Linked DNA regions of Homo sapiens: regions 2, 3 and 4 are each linked to region 1. Evidence: promoter capture Hi-C in 16 types of primary human blood cells and fetal thymus (Javierre and others, 2016). All regions are on one chromosome and are shown on one strand. The core of a region is centred on a gene start or on the middle of the fragment in contact, and the rest is flanking DNA. Distances in the headings are between cores, read along the strand shown.

Evidence for each region. Contacts are between HindIII fragments. The CHiCAGO score rates a contact against its expected background, and 5 or more counts as called.
Region 2: a contact is called between a fragment that was not itself captured here and the fragment with the promoter of TOMM7 in region 1, in 3 of 17 cell types (total CD8 T cells, total B cells and naive CD8 T cells). The highest score is 6.1, in total CD8 T cells.
Region 3: a fragment that was not itself captured here is called in contact with the fragment with the promoter of TOMM7 in region 1 in 14 of 17 cell types (activated CD4 T cells, M0 macrophages, neutrophils and 11 more); the score reaches 8.4 in activated CD4 T cells.
Region 4: a contact is called between a fragment that was not itself captured here and the fragment with the promoter of TOMM7 in region 1, in 1 of 17 cell types (megakaryocytes). The highest score is 5.1, in megakaryocytes.

Annotation. Positions count from the first base shown.
Region 1 is chr7:22,821,439-22,824,138 of GRCh38, reverse strand. TOMM7 (translocase of outer mitochondrial membrane 7) reads left to right here and starts at 1,290. Exons shown (of 3, transcript NM_019059.5): 1 at 1,290-1,462. The coding sequence starts at 1,360. LOC112267993 (a long non-coding RNA gene) reads right to left here and starts at 1,182. Exons shown (of 3, transcript XR_002956543.2): 1 at 440-1,182. RefSeq lists enhancers at 1,060-1,269, 1,300-1,379, 1,049-1,809. The HindIII fragment of the contact is 22,456 bases long and covers 1-2,700 here.
Region 2 is chr7:22,995,421-22,998,120 of GRCh38, reverse strand. All of the region lies in intron 1 of HYCC1 (hyccin PI4KA lipid kinase complex subunit 1), which reads left to right. Among named protein-coding and RNA genes, the nearest start is that of HYCC1, 17 kb to the left of the region's middle. The HindIII fragment of the contact is 170 bases long and covers 1,267-1,436 here.
Region 3 is chr7:23,067,492-23,070,191 of GRCh38, reverse strand. No RefSeq gene overlaps it. Among named protein-coding and RNA genes, the nearest start is that of KLHL7-DT, 37 kb to the left of the region's middle. The HindIII fragment of the contact is 2,762 bases long and covers 1-2,640 here.
Region 4 is chr7:23,030,645-23,033,344 of GRCh38, reverse strand. No RefSeq gene overlaps it. Among named protein-coding and RNA genes, the nearest start is that of HYCC1, 18 kb to the right of the region's middle. The HindIII fragment of the contact is 2,268 bases long and covers 272-2,539 here.

The DNA.
Region 1 (2,700 bases), core at 41-2,540:
CGACCCAGGAACTGAGGCAGTACAAGACAGCTTCCACTCCCTGTGATTTCATCTCTGACCCAACCAATCAGCACTTCCGACTTACTGGCTGTCTCCCCACGCACCAAATTGTCCTTAAAAACTCTGATCCCCGAATGCTATGGGATACTGATTTGAGTAATAATAAAACTCTGGTCTCCTGCACAGCCAGCTCTGCGTGAATTACTCTTTATTGTAATTCCCCAGTGTTGATCAATCGGCTCTGTCCAGGCAGCGGGCAAAGTGAACCCTTTGGGAGCTTACAGCAAGTGACCCAATCACAGCTCACTGCAGCATCAAACTCAAGTGGTCCTCCCGCCTCAGCCTCCCAAATAGCCAGAATTACAGGCGCAAGCCACAGAGGTCAGCAAGGGGAAATTTTTAGGAGCACAGACATTGGGCACAGAAAACGACTACGTACCTTCAGAATGAGGCAGGAAAGTCTTAAAAGTCAAAGTCTTAGAAATGTCTTACAGCCTTAAAAATCAATTAAGTCTTAGACCTGGGGGGGTCAAATCTCAAATACGACAGCAGCCAGAAATTTATTACATCAGAGGTTGGGAATCACTTGGGAAACTTCAAAGGCAGATCAATGGCCAGTTCCCAGCCCCAAACTCTTTAGAATTTCTAGGAGTAGGTCTCCAGCGTGAGTATGGTTTTACCTCTCCTAAAGTGATTCTAATGTGCAGCCAGGGTTGAGAACCACTGCCATTCTAAACCAATGAGGGCAAGATGGCCAAACAGAAGTGTCATTTCCTATTTAGTCTCCTTGATTGTTGCAATGGAATTCCTCAGCTTCAAAAGTCCAGAATTTCATGTGAGATTTCCAAATTCTAAAATGTTGGCAAGTAATTAAAAGAAATTTTTTTAAAAAAGATTGGGATCAAAGAAAACATGGATTCGGGCCCTACTGAGTGTCACTTCGTAACCTTTTTGCAGTTCAACCTCAGGTTTGAACAACCTGATTCTGAGAAGTTAAATAATTTGTCCACGGTTACACAGCCAGTAGGAATAAGAGTTAGGACTAAAACCCAGTCCCTCTGAATTTAATTAATGTTCCTTCCATGAGAAGGAAGGAACACCTGAAGATGCGTTTTAAAAATGGGTAACAGAAACGCGAAGTTACCGCCAGCCATGATCGCAACCACGCATGCGCCTACTACTGCCGGCGAGGCGGAAGAGCAGGGAAGGTTAAAGGCGATGAATTACGACCTCTGCTGGCGACGCTCACGACTCCTGCCGTAAAGGCCGTGTGTGGCGCCTGCGCACCTCCTTTCCCTTTCGGATTCCCGACGCTGTGGTTGCTGTAAGGGGTCCTCCCTGCGCCACACGGCCGTCGCCATGGTGAAGCTGAGCAAAGAGGCCAAGCAGAGACTACAGCAGCTCTTCAAGGGGAGCCAGTTTGCCATTCGCTGGGGCTTTATCCCTCTTGTGATTTACCTGGGTCAGTGGGAGAAGAACCGGGAAAGTGACTGGAGGGAAGAGGGTGGCGGAGACAGCAGCCCCATTTTTGGCCGTCGGGGGAGGGAGAGAAAAATAGGGGACACTGCCGTGCACGGCCCCTGAGGCTGTCTGGTCAAGTGGGGCCGATCTAACCTGAGTTCGAGTTCCCGTTCTATCGCTTTATAGTTGCATGGTCTTTAAGCAGTCTTGCAATCCCTCCTTTTCTATTTTTGCATCCTTAAAGTGGAGGTCATATTTCTCGGGATTGTAGGGAGGGTTGGATGACCCCAGTGGATGTGAAAGTCACTAATTCACTCTCTAGCACTAGGTGGTTCTCGGGGTGTTTTTCCTCACCGCTCCATGTGGTCCTAAGTGGAAAGAGTCCTGTTCAGGGAATCGAGACACCTCGTGAAAGTACCACTGCCATGAAAGCATGATTATAATAATAGTCGTTGGATGCCTCTGCTTTCTTACCTGTACGATGAAGGGTTTGGATGATTTCTATTACTGCCCCCATTTTACAGGTGAGGAAACAGCCGTAGAGAAACTTTTTTGCCAAGGTCGCACAGCTATGCTGACTGAGGGAGTTAGGGGCTCAGGCAGTGGGGCATCAGAGCCCATAGTCTTAACCATTATAGCGCACTTAAAGGATTTGGGGTTTTTTTGGTTTTTGTTTTTAAGACAGAGTCTCGCTCTGTCACCCAGACTGGAGTGCAGTGGCGCTATCCCGGCTCATTGCAACCTTCCCCTCCTGTGCTCTAGCGATCCTTCCACCTCAGTCTCCCAAGTAGCTGGGACTACAGGCTGGTGCCAACAGGCTCGGTCACTTACTGCAAGGATTTGTTAATATTTTTCAGTTAGGGTTGCAGACTGGGACCTATTCTGTAGTTTTTTCTTTTCTTTTCTGTCTTTTTTTTTCCTTTTTTCCTTTTTGAGACAGTCGCTGTGTGCCCAGGCTGGAGTGTAGTGGCGCGATCTCTGCCCACCGCAATCTCTGCCTCTCGGGATCAAGCGATCCTTCCCCCTTAGCCTCCCGAGTAGCTGTGATTACAGACTTGCAGCCACCGCTCGCGGCTAATGTTTATATTTTTAGTAGAGACGGGGTTTTGCTTATGTGGGCCAGGCTGGCCTCAAACTCCTGGCCTCAAGTTAGCTACCTCCCCTCCAGCCGGCCTCCGCCCCGCGCGCGGCCTCCCAAAGTGCTGGGATTACAAGTGTGAATCACCGCGGCCAGGCTGT
Region 2 (2,700 bases), core at 102-2,601, 170 kb before region 1:
TGAAGTCCTGGAGGATCTTGTCTATGACCATACCACCTTGAACGTGCCTGATCTTGTCTGAAGTCATGGAGGATCTGAGAAGAACAGGAAGATAGAAATGGGAAATGAGAAGAAAGAACTTCTTACCTTCTAATTGTTCTAGCTTTTCCAACAGAAACACACTGGGCTGGTTGCCACAGCACACTGATATCCCAACATGATCTTATTTGTCCTTGGGGTAGGCAAAAGATGGTTTAGCCAAAAACCATTTTATAGAGTAAAAACCTATGTTCTATTCTTGATAATCAGACACTTGTTTTGTGATTTTTGGGGAAAATAGGCCTAAGTAATAGGCCTTTGGAAAGACTTCCCAAACCTCTCTTACTATGAATTATATTACTTCTCCTGGTGCCTTGAGAGGCAGCTTTATTTACTTGATGACCTAGGTAGGCAGTGAGGCATCAACACTTCTTTTTAAGCAACAGCACATATACTGTCCTCCTTCACAATTGATTGGTCAGTTTCTAAGCAGCAAAATCCTAAAATTAAATTAATTTTATTCTGTAACATAATCTGAACATTTCTCTCCATTCTGTTTTCCTGAAATTCACCCAGGAATTCTTGATAATCTTCTGGTAGCGCTTAATTTAACTACAGCAATGGCCTCATTGCATAGGAGAGAAGTTTAAAATTTCGTGATGTGTCACAATCCATTTATAGAAATTTGGTTGCTCTATAAATTTATAGAAACTTAAGCTTCATAATGATATATAAAACAAATGGTTATAAAAAGTTTTATAGTAGTTTGTCGTTAGTGCTTAATGGTGAAGGGGATGATGTAAAAGATAGGAATAAGGAAATTTTTAGAGTTTTACAGTGAAAGTTACAAATACTTTTAAAATATTCTTATAAAATAATTAAAATGTTATATGTCTCTGATGACAACACTAAAAGATAAATTTTGGTAATTGTTATTAATAACATAATGTGGGAATTGAAGAATAAGACATTTGACTTAGAAAGGTTTTATTGTACATTGAAAATATAAAAAATTAATGTTATACAGACTTATTGGGCTAGTGAAATACTACATAGACTCCTAGCAAGCCTTCTAATGTAATTTTAAATATTCTGCTCCGGAACATGTTTGGCAAAAATAGGAAGTTAGTTACACAGCAGGAAACATGTATTTTAATTGTCTCTTTTATCTTTGAGAAGAATAAAGTTTTTACAAATGCAAGTATATTTTGAATATTACTAGAGATGTCTAATTAGATTTATAAAGCTTGCAGAGTTATATAGTCAAGTCTTTGGCATAGATGTTAATAGGTTACATATTATATATGAAATGTGGGGGTGGGTTAGCAACTTGTAGAGAGCCTCTTGCTGCTTGCTGGTAGAGAGAAACAGTTTTTAAATCATTTTGTGGCCAGTTTGCTTTTTGTCCTATCTAAGCTTTACTGATACCTTTAGTCAGAACTGTTACTCATCTTGAAGCCCAGGGCTAATGGAAAGAATTTTTTTTTTTTTTTTTTTTTTTTTTTAACAATTGTACTGTACGTGGTAAGGACAAAGAAAAGCTTATGTCAGCTAGTAAACACTGTTGGCTTTTTAATTTTTTATTTCTTTAAATACTTATCCTACAATAGTACTCCAAACCTCACCATCACACAGTATACCCATGTAACAAACCTGCACATGTACCTCCTGAATCTAAAATAAAAGTTGAAATAAAAAAATTATCCTATACTTTATAGAATTCCATTATTCTCTTTCCTACATAATGCATTGATATTTCAGGATTCATTTTTAATGTTTGTATATTTTTGCTTCTTTTTTTTTTTTTTTTGAGACGGAGTCTCACTTTGTCATCCAGGCTGGAGTGCAGTGGTCTGATCCTGGCTCACTGAAACCTCTGCCTCCCGGGTTCAAGTGATTCTTCTATCTCAGCCTCCCAAGTACCTGGGATCACCTGCACATGCCACCATGCCTGGCTAATTTTTGTATTTTTAGTACAGAGGGGTTTCACTGTGTTGGCCAGTCTTTCTCAAACTCCTAACCTCAAGTGATCCTCCTGCCTCAGCCTCCCAAAGTGCTGGGATTACAGGCGTGAGCCACCGCACCCAGCCATACTTTCTCTTCTAAAGATATTCTTACTTTTATAGTTAAAAGGAACTTACCAGGGGCCAGGCACGGTGGCTCATGTCTGTAATCATTTTGAATGGTACTTGATATTCACATGACGTCGTGTTGATGTTAGCTTAGATCAAGGCAGTGCTTGCCCGGTTTCACCACTATACAGTTACTCTTTTCCTCTTTCCGTACTCTCTTTTTTTGCAAGTGAATAGCTATGTCCAGTGCACTCTCAATGGGGGAGCAAGGACTAAGCTCTACCTCCTGGAAGAGATAGTGTCTACATCTGTTACTGGGAATTCTTCCGTAAGGAAACTTTATCTCCTATTCTCTTATTTATTTAATCATTTATTTATATGAGTATGGCCTCATGTATGTTTATTTTATACTTTGGGTTATAATGCAGTACTACATTACTTGTTCTGTTGCTTGGATTGTTCCAGCTTTGGCCATTGGGTGTTCTTTCAGGTTGGCTTAATATTTAAGAGTATAAAGAGTCCCTAACCCAAATGTTTGAAAACAGGTGGTCTAGGCTATGATCATAGACTTTGATCGTAGGATTGAGTAGCTGAGGCAGATAGGAAGAAA
Region 3 (2,700 bases), core at 10-2,509, 250 kb before region 1:
TAGAGTGGCAGGACTATTGGTTAGGTACAGGCAGACATAGAAAACATGAGATAATTTATCATTTTGTAGAGAGAAACCATGCATTGGAAAATTCAAATCTATAGGAAAGGCAATTGATTAGAAGCAAAAGTGAATTTTAGTTGTAATAGAGGTTTAATTTAAGTTCTAGTAATTTAAAGATGAATTATTTTGGGCTGTGTGATCAGATTCCAAATCCAATGGAGAAACAATCATTCAACCACCCAAATCCTGCAGTTTTGGTGATCAGTATAATATTGCATGAGTGCTTTGTCTCTAGTTTAAGTTGTTTAAAACATTTACAAGAACCTGATATATTAAATTTGTGATTTTAAGTAATTATTTAGCATATAATTAAAGAAGTTTATAATCAGTGTTTGAATAGCTGGGAAATTTTTTTTTTTTTTTTGAGACGGAGCTTCACTCTGTCGCCCAGGCTGGAGTGCAGTGGCGCTATCTCGGCTCACTGCAAGCTCCGCCTCCCGGGTTCACATCATCCTCCTGCCTCAGCCTCCTGAGTAGCTGGGTCTACAGGTACCCACCACCACGCCTGGCTAATGTTTTGTTTTGTTTTTTTTTTTGTATTTTTAGTAGAGATGGGGTTTCACCGTGTTAGCCAGGATAGTCTCGATCTCCTGACCTCGTGATCCACCCGCCTTGGCCTCCCAAAGTGCTGGGATTACAGGCGTGAGCCACCGCGCCTGGCCATAGCTGGGAAATTTTAAGTTGTTAGATCTGTTATTTGGTTTATCAGTTGTATGAATAGTATATGAATGTTTACAGTAACCATTTAATATTTAAAGAAATATTAACTGCTTAATGTATCAGTCAGGTTTTTGCTGCAATATTGACATATGAAAAACTCCCAAATTACTTATTTTATATTCCTGACCTGCAGGTGGGCTGGGGAGGTTCTCCTTCAGTCTGTGAGTTTAGTATGTTTTACGTGTTTCTATTCTGGGACCAATGGTTACCTAGGGTTATTCTCATGGCAGATGGCAGAAGAGTAAGGGAGGAGAATGGAAATGTGATGGCTAAAAATGGACATGTTCTCTTTTCCACCCACATTCCATTGTCTAAAGCAAGAGATGTGGCCAAGCCCAACATCAAAGGAGTAGAATGACTGGGCATGGTGGCTCCTGCCTGTAATCCCAGCACTTTGGAAGGCCAAGGTGGGAGGATTGCTTGAGCCCAGGAGTTTGAGATCAGCCTGGGCAATGTAGGAAGACTCCATATCTAAAATAAATAAATAAATACATAAATAATCAGCCAGGCACGATGGCATACGTGTGTACTCCCACTTACTTGGGAGGCTGAGGTGGGAGGATCACTTGAGCTTGGGAGGCTGAGGCTGCAGTGAACTATAATTGAGCCACGCACTCCGGCCTGGGTGACAGAGCAAGACCTTGTCTCAAAAACAAAAACAAAATAATCCAAAGGAGTAGAAGGCTTTACCTACAGTGAACCATGCAAAGGTGGGGAGGGAAAGAATTGTGAGTAAATAATGTAATCTTCCACTCTTAATAAATCTATGAGATTAAAATGTTAGATATATAAGTGCAAATAGTCACGATCATTCTTCATGCACAAAAGCCTCACATAAATGACTTTATAGCAAAGTTCTGAGTCATGAAAGAATCTTTTGTTTTTGGGGTCAAATGCAATATAATGTGAACTTATTATTTATTTGAGTGTTTTTGTAGCAGGGTTGCAAAATTACTTGTGATACAGAAATTTAGAAGTGATTTAATTTCTTTATTTTGTTTAGAGCTTATTTAGTCTTGTGACCTGGTAGGTGGTGGGAAAGAAAAACAAAACCAAAAAACACAAATTAATCTGGTTTAAAATGTATTCTGATCCAGTCGTTTAAACCACCCCTTATGTAATTCTCAGGTTCTCAGACTTCTCCCATTTTCACCCCTTCATTGCCTTCCTACCTGGAAGTACGTGGGGGAGGGGTATAGTTTATTGTATTCTTACGATATAGGGCGGGAAGAGGGGTCTCTATGGCCTTAATCTTGGTTCTTGAGTGTGCATTGATTAGTGCCTATTGAAGTTCACCCAAGTTTTGGCGTTAGACTTCAGTGGCTGCTAAAGTTGTCTATTTTTTCCTGGTTTAGTCAAGCCCTAGTCACCCTTCCTTGTTGGCTTGGCCTACCTTCAGCTCTCTCTGGCTAGAGACCTTTCTGAATCTCTCCCTTATCCAGCCCCCAGTCAGGCTATTCATCCTGAAGACTTTTGCTGTGGGATCATCTATCCCAGTGCCACAGCAGGCCCCATGGCAGGCTTGTGGCTTTCAACTCCGTGTCCATGTTACATAGGTACCAATGTAGGCTTTGGAGTGCACATTAGGATCTCTCTCTCTCTCTTTCTCTCCCCCAAGGACCTTAGCGCTCCATTCTCCTAATCATGCCAGGAAATCTCGAGGTGAAGACACTTGGCAGAACTGACCTGGAATCTCAAATAGGCAAAATGACCACCTTGGAGCACAAGTTTCTCACCATCCACCTTTCCCTTCCCCTGTTTCCTGTTTTCCTTCTTGCCATTCCCTGGACAACAAGAGGAAGGTTTTCTTTTACTTCTCTTCTATCACATCCTGTTTCTACCACAGAGTGGGAAGCTTCTTGGCAAAATGTCATAGGCAAAAAAGAAAATCTCTATGATTTGAATTGCCAAGTCTGG
Region 4 (2,700 bases), core at 156-2,655, 210 kb before region 1:
CATGCCTGGATGTCAAAATCCATTTAATGGTGCTCAAGTTTTTGAAGCAGGTAATGCTTGTCTCTAATGCCCTCCCTCTCCCTTTAGTTCTTTCCCAGATCCACTGTGGCTGGGGTCCATGTTTCCCTGTCTTCCTAGAGTTCCCTTCTAGAACACTTATTTAGGACTGGTCCGACTCCAAATTCACACCTTCTCCAAAATTGGTCATTCTCTACCTCACCCTCCAACCAAAACCCCTTTCTCTCAGGATAAGCTAACGTAGTGGAAAGCTTATGTTCTCTGGAGCCCAAAAAGTATGGGGTGGAATCTCTTCTCCACCGCTGTGTGACCTTGATCAAGTTGGTTAACTTCTCTAAGCATCGGTTTACTGACTTGTAAAATAATAAAATTACCCATCCAGGTGCGGTGGCTCACGCCTGTAATCCCAGCATTTTGGGAGGCCGAGGAGGGAGAATCACGAGGTCAAGAGATCGAGACCATCCTGGCTAACCAACATGGTGAAATCCCTTCTCTACTAAAAATACAAAAATTAGCTGGGCATAGTGGCGCACAACTGTAGTCCCAGCTACTTGGGAGGCTGAGGCAGGAGAATTGCTTGAACCCAGAAGGCAGAGGTTGCAGTGAGCCGAGATCGCTCCACTGCACCCCAGCCCGGGTGACAGAGAGAGACTCCGTCTCAAAAAAAAAAAAAAAAAAATTACCCATGGGGTTGTTAAAAGGCATAGAAGCATTTATGCATCCTGCAGCTTTTAGCCACCTGCATCCAAGCTCTCTTTTGTATGATGATCACAAAGATGAATCAAAGTTCCAGACCCTGAATGGGGACCCAGTACATAAAAAAACCAGTGGTTGAGCCTCAGGGGTGGCCAAAGAGACAACCAGCTATCAGCCAGCCTTTTCCTCTTTTGTTTTGTTTTCAACAAAAAACAAGATTCATATGCCAATTGCCCACAACCACTTCCCAAAATCACCAAAGCAAAGTTGTCAAAACTATGCTCCTTCACTCCACACATTCCTTTCAGGCCATAGGTTGCCCTTTCATAACTGGGTATCCCTTTTCAGATCCCTTGAGATATTTGTTGAGACCTGATTTGGAGACAGGGGTACAGCAGATAAGAGAGTGGGAGCACACTGTAAAGTTTGCTTCATTTTTCAACCATTAGAAAAGGCTCTGCTTAGGCCGGGCGCGGTGGCTTACGCCTGTAATTCCAGCACTTTGGGAGGCCGAGGCGGGTGGATTGCCTGAGGTCGGGAGGGAGTTCTAGACCAGCCTGACCAACATGGAGAAACCTCGTCTCTACTAAAAAAAATACAAGGCTGGGCGCGGTGGCTCATGCCTGTAATCCCAGTACTTGGGAGGCCGAGGCGGGCGGATCACGAGGTCAGGAGATCGAGACCATCCTGGCTAACACGGTGAAACCCCATCTCTACTAAAAATACAAAAAAAAAAAAAAAAAAAAAATTAGCCGTGTGTGGTGGTGGGCGCCTGTAGTCCCAGCTGCTTGGGAGGCTGATGCAGGAGAATGGTGTGAACCCGGGAGGCAGAGCTTGCAGTGAGCCGAGATTGCGCCACTGCACTCCAGCCTGGGCGACAGAGTGAGACTCTGTCTCAAAAAACAAACAAAAAAATTAGCCCGTTGTGCTGGCGCATGCCTATAATCCCAGCTACTTGGGAGGCTGAGGCAGGAGAATCGCTTGAACCCGGGAGGCGGAGGTTGCAGTGAGCGAGATCACGCCATTGTACTCCAGCCTGGTCAACAAGAAGGAAACTCCATCTTAAAAAAAAAAAAAAAAAGTAGAAAAGGCTCTGCTTAGAATTAGCCACTCTGGGAGTTGGAGGAGAGCCTTCTTCTAAATTTCCACAGTTATTGGTGTTTCATAGCATGGTCATGGGCGAGCGGAAGTAGATCCAGGACTTCCTGGCTGGAGTTGAGTGTTGCATGAATTCAGCAGATTGTTCTGGGGGCCTTTCCATCTCGTTTGATATGTGACTTCTCTTGGCAGCCAGTCAGTGAGACAATGACGTTCTCTAGTGTCTGAGAGACAGATTTAAAACGGTACTTTGGGGAGGGGTGTGGTGGCTCATGCTTGTAATCCCAGCATTCTGGGAGGCCGAGGCAGGTGGATCACTTGAGGTCAGGAGTTTGAGACCAGCCTGGGCAACATGGCAAAACCCCATCTCAACTAAAAAAATAAAAAAATAAGCCAGGTGTGGTAGTACACACCTGTAATCCTAGCTACTTGGGAGACTGAGGCAGGAGAATCACTTGAATTCGGGAGGCAGGGGTTGCAGTGAGCCAAGATCATGCCACTGACTCCAGCCTGGGCAACAGAGAGAGACTCTGTCTCAATAAAATAAAATAAAGTAAAATAAAATGGTGCTTTGGGAAGCCTGGGGTTCCGATAATGATGGAGAAGGAATAGGAGAGCAGAGGGGCTTGAGGCCCTCTTCACTCCACTTCAGATCTGTCGGGTTGGCTTTGTTCGGTGTCATTTGTTATTCTGAAGGAAACTTCATTTGGAAAAAGAACAGAAAGCTTTGCTGCTAAACACACACACATACACACGCACACGTGTGCTTGCGCCAGCAAACCACTATCTTGGATATTCTGCTCAAGGAGAAGTTAAAGAGGAATCATGGGGAGAGGGAGCAGGTGGGCAGCAAACAGTAAGGCCTTATGTGTACTATAATACTGTATT